Regions from separate parts of the Homo sapiens genome. Here region 1 is linked to region 2. Evidence: promoter capture Hi-C in 16 types of primary human blood cells and fetal thymus (Javierre and others, 2016). All regions are on one chromosome and are shown on one strand. Each heading gives the region's core, a stretch centred on a gene start or on the middle of the fragment in contact. The rest is flanking DNA. Distances are from core to core; before and after follow the strand shown.

The links. Contacts are between HindIII fragments. The CHiCAGO score rates a contact against its expected background, and 5 or more counts as called.
Region 1: a fragment that was not itself captured here is called in contact with the fragment with the promoter of LINC01124 in region 2 in 1 of 17 cell types (total B cells); the score reaches 11.1 in total B cells.

The regions. Positions count from the first base shown.
Region 1 is chr2:176,073,030-176,078,547 of GRCh38, forward strand. EVX2 (even-skipped homeobox 2) reads right to left here. Exons shown (of 3, transcript NM_001080458.2): 3 at 4,443-5,518. Among named protein-coding and RNA genes, the nearest start is that of EVX2, 8.2 kb to the right of the region's middle. RefSeq lists enhancers at 1-141, 2,313-3,653. The HindIII fragment of the contact is 1,123 bases long and covers 1,361-2,483 here.
Region 2 is chr2:170,711,643-170,716,910 of GRCh38, forward strand. LINC01124 (long intergenic non-protein coding RNA 1124) reads right to left here and starts at 2,925. Exons shown (of 1, transcript NR_027433.1): 1 at 797-2,925. SP5 (Sp5 transcription factor) reads left to right here and starts at 3,695. Exons shown (of 2, transcript NM_001003845.3): 1 at 3,695-3,921; 2 at 4,617-5,268. The coding sequence starts at 3,871. The region is part of intron 5 of ERICH2-DT (ERICH2 divergent transcript); the gene reads right to left. LOC100130256 (a long non-coding RNA gene) reads right to left here and starts at 365. Exons shown (of 10, transcript NR_187629.1): 1 at 222-365. RefSeq lists a silencer at 3,012-3,061 and enhancers at 3,279-4,068, 4,069-4,856, 4,857-5,268. The HindIII fragment of the contact is 7,273 bases long and covers 130-5,268 here.

The DNA.
Region 1 (5,518 bases), core at 672-3,171, 5.4 Mb after region 2:
ATCCCAGGACTAAGTAAGTCATTTGCTGGTCTGGCTTGGATGAACCAAGGATCGCAGGAGGCTGCCTGTGTGCCTACCCGTCCCCCCGCCCGAGTCCCCTAGTGGGCGAACGCTGGGCCGGGCACGGTATCTCCCTGGCGAGCACAGCCTGAACCCAAGGCTGGTTTTGAGGTGGCAGTTAATTACTAGCCCGGAAAGCCGAAGCCCCGGAGCCGATGTCTGGGCTGACAGGGTTCCCTCCTCAGCCTCGGGGCAGTCAGACGATTCCTAACAACTTCTCCCAAGGAGGTAGATCCCTGTTTATCAACCAGCACACCCCGTCGGCCCTTTTCTTTGGTAAACACTCTTTAAACAAACAGCCCATCCGCCCTGTTATTGCCAAAGCTGCTCAGAGCTTTAATAAAAGCCCAGGGAAGATCAGAACCCGCGTCCAAGGCTGCTGCTTAATCCAATGAAGGCAATTTCCGAGGATAATTGCGAACATGTTTTAATGCATATGCATGAAAAAGGATTTTTTTTCTGAGAGACCAACTTTACATGCTTATGTAATTGATTGAGGCGCTGACCCGCTATTCAAAATGTTATTTGAGAACCATCACAATGCGTAAACTTGCAAATTGCCCAGCTTGTATCTGAATTAATACCTCATTCATCATCATTATGGGTTGATAAGTTAATTTAACCATTTCATTCTGCCTTAATGAGCTATAGTTAAATTAATGCCACATAATATATGAAAGTAACATTTAAATAGAAGCACTGGGCTGAGACAAGCCGAGGCTGCTGCTATTTGGGCTGAAATAAGGTGACATAAATCTTTTCTTCATTACAGGACCCAGTCTGCTCTACCAGCAGTTATGAAGTATTTATTCATTCACTTTCTTTTGCGAAGTTGCTTTGCCAAATAGCATAGGTAAATTATGTGAGCTTGTAAATAATGCCTGAGGATGTATTTATTAAAATAAGATTGGGGTGGAGGTGGGAGAATCTATAAAAAGCATTTTCACAGCATGCTTTCCCATCGCTCCAGGAAAACCAAGACCCCCACTGCCAGCCCTCCCCAACTTGGCTGGGAATACCACAGGGTCTGGAGGTCACTGGTTTTACTCCAAAGTGCCTGCTCTGAGTTCAAACCTCAGAAACACCAGCCTGCCCCTTTTCTCGTTTGCAGACTGGACTATCCTCCCAACCCACCCCCGCCACCACCCCTCCTCCCCTGGGTTTCCGTCACAGGCAGAGACACCTTGATTCTGGTTTTCCTAAGTCAGGGATGATGAGCTTAGTTGTGGATACTTTGCAAATTGGTGTAAAGGAAGCTGGAAGAGAGGGTGACCCTTCCCACCTCAGAAGTGGTTCAGGAAGCTTCCATGAGATTCTTTGGACCCAGACCTTAGGTCAGAGAAGCTGAGGTGAGAGTGGCTCCAAAGAAAGAGAAGGGATCAGGCCAAAAGGTCACTGAAGAAAGGGGAGGTGCCCCCAGGAGCCATAACCCCCTACATTTCTCCCTCTCTACTCCCAAGCCAGTCTTTTATTGGGATAAGTTATTTAAACTCAAGGGGAGTCTCTCCATCTGAGAGGGGGTGAGACAGGGCAGGCTTCGTGGGTGGGGATCTTTGTAGTCACACAGGGTGATGGGCTTAAAAGCCACCCCCCAGCTTGATTTGATGTTCTGTTGTTGCCCTCTTGAAATTCCTAATAACTTTTGAACAAGGGGCCCACATGTTCATTTTGCACTGGGACCAAAAATTGTGCAGCCAGTCCTAGGTGGAAAAAGAGGAAAGGAAAAGAGACTGACTTCTCATGACCACTGCAGGGCTCTATGTCCCCTTCTTTGGTTCCTTATGAGAGGAAACTCAGAATGCTACTTGAAAGTAGATCCCCACTTCTGATCAAATCATGGCTCATAACATTAACAGACAAATTATAGCGTGAGCCCTACGCTGCTCTCCAGGGTCTCCAGGTGTAGGCCTTTGATGACTGGGGTTTGGGAGAGCTGCCAATAAAGGTTCAGCCTAAAACCAAAATGCACTCCAGCTTCTGACCTGATCGGCCTAGGAAAAACGCTCAGGGCCTTGGCAAAGGAAAAGGTCACTTTCCTTCCTCAGAAAGCCCAGGAAAGGGACTCAAGTTTTAGCGGGAGGGAGAGTTATAAGTCTTCCTTTAGCGGATTCAGGATGGGTAGGATTGAAAGGACACCTTTCCTGGAATCCATAGCAGACTGAAGAATTTTGAGTTTGGAGCTGTGTGTAAGTAAGTAGATTTTTACAAAGGTAAATTTCTTTGCTTGTTCTTTTTGCACCTAAAAATCCAGGACACCGGAGCATTATGGGAAGAAAAAGAAATACAATTTATGGAAGAGAAGTAACAAGAGGAAAACCCTTACCATATATTTAGTCTTCATAACTTATTTAATTGCAGAGGGTAGCGATTGTTTCATCAAATGTTTCATATTTCTGAGTTTGGAGGGCGGGGATGCCAGGGTAAGCTTCCTCCGAGCGACTAAGGAGCAGCAACAAGCTCTGGAATTTCCTCTCGGGGTGGTCCGTTCCACCTTAAATAACTTGGGCTTTTTGGTCCCAAACGCGCCCTGTAGTTCAGGTTTTTTTGTCCTCCCTGCAGCAGCTGTCACCCTGCATTACTCGCAGTCAGCTAAATGAAACATTATTCTAAACATATGCATCGTAATCAGTTCGGTCACACTTACAAGAACACGCGTTAATAAGGCAATCAATCACCCTGGAACAAGCAAGTTGTTCTGTAACAGCTCATAAACAGTGTGTAATGAAGAATTGGAGGTTACCGTGACATGCGTTGATCAGATAATCAATGTCAAAGATGCGATGAATGTCAGTAAATGTAGTTTTCATGTCGTTTCTATAAAATCTTCAATTTACAACAAGCAGTTCAATTACCCAGAAAATACAGTCAATTAAATAGGGGTGATTGGACAGTAGGGGGGTGGATCATCGATCTTTGCATTTCTATCTCGCTAGTGGACATTTAATTTGGTTTTTCCATTAGCGACGAAATAAAGAAAATATAAAATATATTAAACAACCTACAGATTTATTTTCTTGTCAAAAACAATTCGGGCTTGATGACAGACAGTCTTCTGCATTTTATGATGAATTATTTTTTCATTCTTTGCACACTCGAGACAAAAAAAATGCTGTTATTTTGGACAGGGTTTTTTGGCCACTGTCTTTTTCCGTTTGCTGGCCCATCTATCTCAATGCTTTTGTTTTTAAGGGTTACAACCCCCGAGTTAGCAAAGAGCACCGAAAACCAGGGTGATACATCACCAGTCCAAATGTGCTGCTATAATCGTATTTCTTTAATGGGGGAGTTCAAGAAAAGAGAGAAGGGGAAAGAGAGAAAAGAATTTATCGAGGGGGAGGGAACCCTTGGGATTACTTCAGTATATATTTAACCAACCTGCAATTAAAGACGGTATCAGCTTGTATCATTTAGAGCTAATGCAATAATAATGGTAAATTACAGGCCAAAATGGCTTGTGATCGCAGCCTCTGTATTCCCAGTAGTGTCCTCATCGTTGTAATTAATGCCAGGGTGAGCAGTTGGAAAAAGAAAATTTCGAGGAAGGGACATCTTGGTTTTTAAATCGAATAGACTGCTTTGCACACACCATTGACTCTTGCATTTTGCCATCGAAATATCGATTTTAAGACAGATCTGTAAATACACGAAGAGGTGGACTGAACTCGGGAAAGAAGATAGGATTGGGAAAGAAAAACAGGGCTGAAGTACCAAAGCAAAAGAAAGAAGGAAGAGGGGAAATCATATTTTTAAATATCCAGTTGCTTGAAATACTCATAGCCAATTTGGTAAAATGTTCACAGCATCCTTTATCCTCAGCAAACAGAAACACTACTTAAGTTTGAAGAATGTGCTGTACACCCCTAAAAGAGACCAAAGGAGATGGAACTAGTAAGGGAGGGCTGAGCTTGAAGAGGGCTGAGCTCCTATTAAGAGTGAACTTTTTCCTTGAATTAAATATTAATATTTACTTCATAAGTGGGAGAATAAAAGTGGGCAAGTTAATTAGATAGAGGAATTAATTTTGTTTACCTTTGTAGTACTGCAAACATAAACAGCTCCTAACCCTGTGTACACACTCCCTATATATATGACGGCACGTCCTCTACCATGTGTATCGACACACACACTACTCCTAAACACTCTTATCTGTTTAGCCAGCCAATTAACGTTAAACCAATGTTTGGAAGAGTGCATGTCTCCTATAAACATGAGTAATGTATTTGCCATAAAAATAATGATTAGAATGAATTAATCCATCTGATATGTGTATTATATGGATTTAAACATGTTGTTTTAAGAGATTCTCATAACCCTGGATGCCACAGTTAAAAACGAACACTAGCACAAACCATTTTGCAATCTCTTAAACAAATAAAACTGCCTTGATTTAAATAACATTTATTTTACATGACCAAACACAATAAATAACGTAATATACAAGGCTTTATAATTATTGCACATTTGTAAAATATCTTACAGTGAGTTCATACATCCAGCAATATTTAAAGCACGAAGACTTTATTTACAATTTTATTTCAATATAATAACCAGATCCAATGGACCCAACAAATGATGAATTTATGTTAATTTTACCAACCAGCGTTCTCATCAATCATATATATTTTTTGGGGGAAATGTAAACATTACTGCCTAAAGTACCTTATATACATCTGTTAGCTGATCATAACAAAGGACTTTAACAATCTAAATAGGTAAAGCTGATAAAGGGTACCATATTTTGGTTTATTTTATTTAGCCTTAAATTATATATTAATATTTTTAAAAATGTAAACTCAGTGAATAAGAGCTGGTATAATCAATATTTTACATAAGTAGTCTCATGTTTTTAAAAACAAAAACAAAAACTTAAGTTTTAGATCATTGCTATTTCATTGGAAAGTTCTCTAATATTTTATGGTAATATTTTAATAGACCCCAGGAATTTCGAAATACTGTTTCCCCTTTATGTATTTTCCATTTGATGGAAATAATTTCTCCTGGAAAACTAATTCTTTCAAAAGTTTACTGAAAGCCTATATTTAGGAAATGATATTTTAAAATCCAGTGTCTTTAAAATAACAATATGATGGCAGGACACAAATCTGAAATAAACCACAGAAAATAGTGCCAATGTGTATGTATACATGAATATGTGTGTATCTCTTACATATGTATTTAAGAGCACGGATATATATATGCATATACATACATATACATATATATACACATACACAAACACATGTAGGTAGCCTACCTACATTTTAATACACGTACACACACATACCCACTTCGCTGGGTCTAAACATGCACTAGCAAGTTATTTTAGGGCTTCAACTCTTCAGAAAATCTCATTATGTGAGGAGCCAAGTGGCTCTGCGGGGAGCATTATGGAAATATCTGGGCTTGATTTAATGAGGCTGTTCACACTGGTGGAATATCAACTTAACAGAGAAAAGTC
Region 2 (5,268 bases), core at 1,675-4,174:
GCTGAAATGATCTAAATAATATCTAGATTTTTAAAAAATCTAGCTTGAGAGGGGTGACTCTCTGGTTGGATTTATGCCAGAGGCATGCGTCCCTTCTAGCTGCAAGAAAATGCCCGAGGCGAGGTACCAAGCTTGGGCTGGAAGTAGCAACCCCTGACTTAATCCCAGAGCGCGCAGAGCTGGTCCGTCCCCTGCGCAAGTGTCACTGCGGGTTCACCTACCGGCCTCTTCCTCTCGCAGGTGGCATGCAGTCGGCGCTCGCCGCCCGCCCGCAAAGAAACGGCAATGCAAACTTCCCAGCCTGGGAACCCCGCTGCTTGGAGAGCAGCTCCGCTGTGCCAGCCGCCGCCAGGAGACTGGTATTCAACCTCCCCGCCCCCCGCCACGGTTAAAGTTTGCTCCACATTCGCAGCTCCCACCCCACCCCCATCTCCGCCCCGAGGCAGGAGGACCACATAGGAGTTCCTGGGTCCACCGTGCGCAAACACACCCACCAACAAAAGAAAGCCCATTAAATCTTCCCTCCTGTGAACTCGCGCCCCAACGGATACCTCTTTGAACTGACCCCCGCCCCCGCAGCCCCCGCGCTGTCTGGGGCGCGCCTGGCCCTCCCGGGCTTACTCTCTCCCCCACAGCTGCGCACTTTTGCAGCGCGCTCGGTCTTTGATGTCTCTTTACATTATGGCAGAGCAGCCACACGCTCTTCCCGGGCGCGGGGCTTTGTGTAATGGAACTGACATTTGGCCTTGATACCTGTATCTCTTGGTGATTACAACAAATTTCTAAAATAAATATTGTACTTTGATCTCCCAGCATTGCATTTTTAATGGACGCTCTCAACATTACTTCATTAAGAACTTTTTCCAGGAGCTCCGAGGGCCAAGGGGGTTGGGGGAGACTAAACAGCTATTCAGCAAAGCCTCTCTCCAAACTTCAGCTGGGGCCTGGGAGGACCGGAATCTGGACGGGTTTTCACAAACGGAGATGAGGCCGAGAGCAGCCAACTGCGACCACTCAAGAGAGGGCCTTCTGTACGCTCAGCACCGTCCTAAAGACCTTGCGTATATTAACTCTTAAACCTATAGCCACTCTACAAGGGGTGCACTATTGTAACTCCCATTTTACAAACCGCAAAACTGAGGTACACAGCGGCTGAGTACCTTGCTTGCCAAGGTCACCAACTAGAAAGTGGCAAGGCGGGAAAAATGTCTTCAGAGAGTTCGGACTCCGAGCTTTCAACCACCAAGCCACTAACTTTGACCCTGTTGGCCCACTGATGGTTTAACTGGCTAATGGGGGCATCTTGGAGAAAAAGCTAATTCCCATAACTATGGGGATGTGAAATGGCTTTTCTGGCCTTTTTGGGAAAGTAGCTATCAGATTCAATAAAAAGGGCTGCCTTCCATCCTGCTTAGCCCGGCCCTGCCCGCCTCCCTGGGAAAGGGGACTTCGAAGATCTCAAAGAAGCTGGAAAGGAAACCAGCGCTAAGGAACCAGATCGCTTCGAGGGTGCAAGCATGTGCAGGCGCGAGTGTGTGCCAAGGGGCTCCCTGGCCTCCGACTTGCATCCAGGGAAGAGCTCCCTCGAGTCTCACGCTTCTCCAAGACTCAAATCCTGGACGGGAGCGTGGGAAGGAGCAGGTTGGCCAGGCCTCGGATGAAACCACTAAGCTCTCTCCCCTTCTCCGCTCCCAGAGCAGCCGACCTCATCTTCAGAAGCCAGATCGGGTCGGCCAAGTTGTGTGGTCGCCGCTCGCGTTTTAGAGGGGACAACTCGTTGGGGGAGAAGGGGGCGTGCGAGTGCAGGATGTGCGAGGGACCCATTGTATTTGGGTCGCAAGCAGCCCACCCGTCTTGAGTACGATATTCTCATTCCGCAGGCGCGCCCTGGGCGTGGGAGAAGGTGGGCCCGGAGGCATCGCATCCCCGACCCCTGATGGAAGTGCGGAGGGCATCCTTATACAGTCCAGATTCCGAGTCCGTTGTAGTTAGGCTAACCTCTGACGCTGCATCGGGAGATAGGTCACCCCGTCCGTCCCGGTCGCAGTGCGGTTCCCGTGAGGAAGACGGGCAGAGAGGCCGGGCGCGAACTGATTAGGGGCTCCCCCACGGCCGGCGGCCTGGAGAGTGGAGACTGTGTCCGACGGGAGGTGGGTGGGGGAGAGGAGTAGGCCGAGCTCCGGCGGCCACTCCGCAGTGCGCTCTCGCGAGCCGGGGCCGCGAGGCCTCCAACGCGGTTCCGCACCCCTAATGCCCCAGGGCGGTGAGCACCCCGCGGTTCCCCGCCCGCCTCTTCCTCCTTCCCCGCCCGCGCGCCCGGGAGAGGCGATCCCCGCGTCCGCAGTGCCGGGGCAGGACGCGCCCTGCGCCCTGGGCCAGGAGGAGGCAGGTGGCCCTCCTCGGCAGGAGGTGAGCCGCCAGGGAGGGATGGGGGTCACCCAAGCCCCTGCAAGCGCGACCCTGCCCAGAGCAAAGCACGCCCCGCGCCTGGTGAGGAACTTTTTCTTTCCAAAGGTGGCAGGAACAAGTCTGTACTGACTTTTCTCCCGCCTTCGGGATCCTCTCTCGTATGATTTGTGGTTTGTGGGACCACAACAACCAGGCTTCCTCGACCGCGCCTTTTTTCCAGTAGCTCCTGGTCTGCCAGGCTTGCGAGAGGGCGCGCTGGCTTGGCGGGGCTCCGGGCGAGAAATCACCAGCAGCGCTGGGGCTTTCGGCCCCCCACAGCCCAGCCCGGGCCTCCTGGGTGGCCTGGGGAGAAGGGGGCGGGACAGCACAGCTTCTTCCCCTCGGGTGGGCATGACGGGTCGCCTTGGGTGTCCTGCCGAGCTCAGCTTTGAGGGTATGCGCGGCGCGGGTGTTTTTCCCAGGTCCACTCTGCAAAAGTTGTGGCCTGAGGAAAACTTCCAGGTCGCCAGCAGGAACGTCACAGGAGAGCCCCGGTCGCTCGTCAGGCGGGCGGCCCTGGAGCGTGCGCGCCACCCAACGCCGCGCTGGGCGGCCGCCCGGCCCCGCCCCAGGTCACAGCCCTGCCCTCGGCCCCACCGCGGCGGGCGGGGGACACGCGGCGGGCCGGGCGCTGTCGGTCCCACGCCCCACCGGGGATCTCGCTTGGGTCCGCTGTGTGCGCGGGCGGGTGCGTGTGCGGCGAGGGTGCAGGGTGTGCAAGTAAATACAGGGGAGAGTTACACTCTTTGCCGTCTCAAAGTCCGGCGCCTGGAAGCCGAAGGCAGATTTTTCCAGAGATAACAAAGACACTTTGTCACTTTGGGCGCTGCGTCGGTGCAAATCTTTAATTGCAAGTGTGTGTGTGTGTGTGTGTGTGTATGTTGGGGGGGGCGGGAAGAGTGTCTCGAGCAACCCAAGCGCGGGTCTCCAGGCGGCAAGGCCCCCTTTGATCAGGAAAATCCAATTATTTGTGTATATACATTTCCCACATAGTGATTACTTCATTAATTGTCCCGCCTTTATCTCCTCCCTTCCCATCCCCCCTAATAATCAGTTCTTTTATCCAGACCAACAAACACACCATAGGAGCTTTGTGGATTCAAAGGATTTGCTTTCGCTTCTGAAAGAGCCGCTATTCTTTGATGATTGGGTAGCGGCAAACTTCAAAGCCATAAATCTTCCCTCTGACTGGCTGGCGGCCCAGCAAAGTCCTTATCAAATTCTTGGAGGTGATCCTGAAGCGCTCAGACCGCGCGCGGGGCGAGCGAGCGGGGCGCGGCGAGGGGCAAGGGCGGGGAGGGCCCCGGCGCTCAGAGCAGGCGCCAGGGAGGCAGGCTGGGCGGCCCTTCGTCCTCGCCTTCGGGTGTCCATGCCTCGGCGGCGGCGTCCCGCTCCGCAGCCAGGGGCCTGCAAGCCGTAGCCATGGCCGCGGTGGCCGTCCTCCGGAACGACTCGCTGCAGGCCTTTCTCCAGGTCAGGGCCGAGCCCGGAGGGGGCGGGAGAAAGGTGGAAAGGGCCGTGTCCGGATCTCTCCTGGTACTCCGTGCACCTTGAACCTCAAAGGGAACCCCGCCGATGGGTGCAGCTGGAGCCAGGCCTAGGGGTGCCCACGCCAACTTCACACCTAATCCGGTGTGGCCTTTGCTGGAGGGACGCGTGGATCCGGGATTGTTCGGAGGTGCCCGGCTGGCCGAGAACAGGACCGGAGCTCACCCTGCTGGGCCCTCCTGCTGATTTCAGCCTGGGGCGGGCCAGGGAGGAGCGCGAAGGCAGTGAGGACAAGAGAGCTTAAAAGATGGGAGGGAGAGCGGCCGGCCGGCGGGGTTGTGGGTGTTTCCCGACTCTTACTGACCACGGAGCCGGGAGGGGCCCGTCGGATGCCTCCCCCTCCCACTTCGCGCCTGCTTCCTCTAAGGCTGGATGGCGTCTCAGTGCACCAAGTAGTTTAGCAAGAAGCGCTCGCGGGCCCCACGTTCAGGTAGCGCAGGCACCAAAAGTTTCCCTCGGCCGGTGGGTGCGTGCGTGGGGTGCGGTGGCGGGGGAGGGACGGCCGGGACGGAGGAGGGGCGGCGGTATAATAGCGGGCGTGGGGGCGGCGGGCTGGCCCGGAGTCCGCGCTTGGAGCTAACCTTTTGTCTCTTCTCCGCCCTCCCTCGCCGCCTATGCAGGACCGCACCCCCAGCGCCTCCCCGGACCTGGGCAAGCACTCGCCCCTGGCATTGCTGGCCGCCACCTGTAGCCGCATCGGCCAGCCGGGCGCGGCGGCGCCCCCGGACTTCCTGCAGGTGCCCTACGACCCCGCGCTGGGCTCACCCTCCAGGCTCTTCCACCCGTGGACCGCCGACATGCCGGCGCACTCGCCAGGCGCACTGCCGCCCCCGCATCCCAGCTTGGGGCTGACGCCGCAGAAGACGCACCTGCAGCCGTCCTTCGGGGCTGCGCACGAGCTTCCCCTTACACCCCCCGCCGACCCCTCGTACCCCTACGAGTTCTCGCCGGTCAAGATGCTGCCCTCGAGCATGGCGGCTCTGCCCGCCAGCTGCGCGCCCGCCTACGTGCCCTACGCGGCGCAGGCCGCGCTGCCGCCAGGCTACTCCAACCTGCTGCCTCCGCCGCCGCCACCGCCCCCGCCGCCCACCTGCCGCCAGTTGTCACCCAACCCGGCCCCCGACGACCTCCCGTGGTGGAGCATCCCGCAGGCGGGCGCCGGGCCGGGGGCCTCCGGGGTTCCGGGAAGCGGCCTCTCCGGCGCCTGTGCCGGGGCCCCCCACGCGCCCCGCTTCCCCGCCTCTGCGGCCGCTGCTGCTGCGGCCGCCGCCG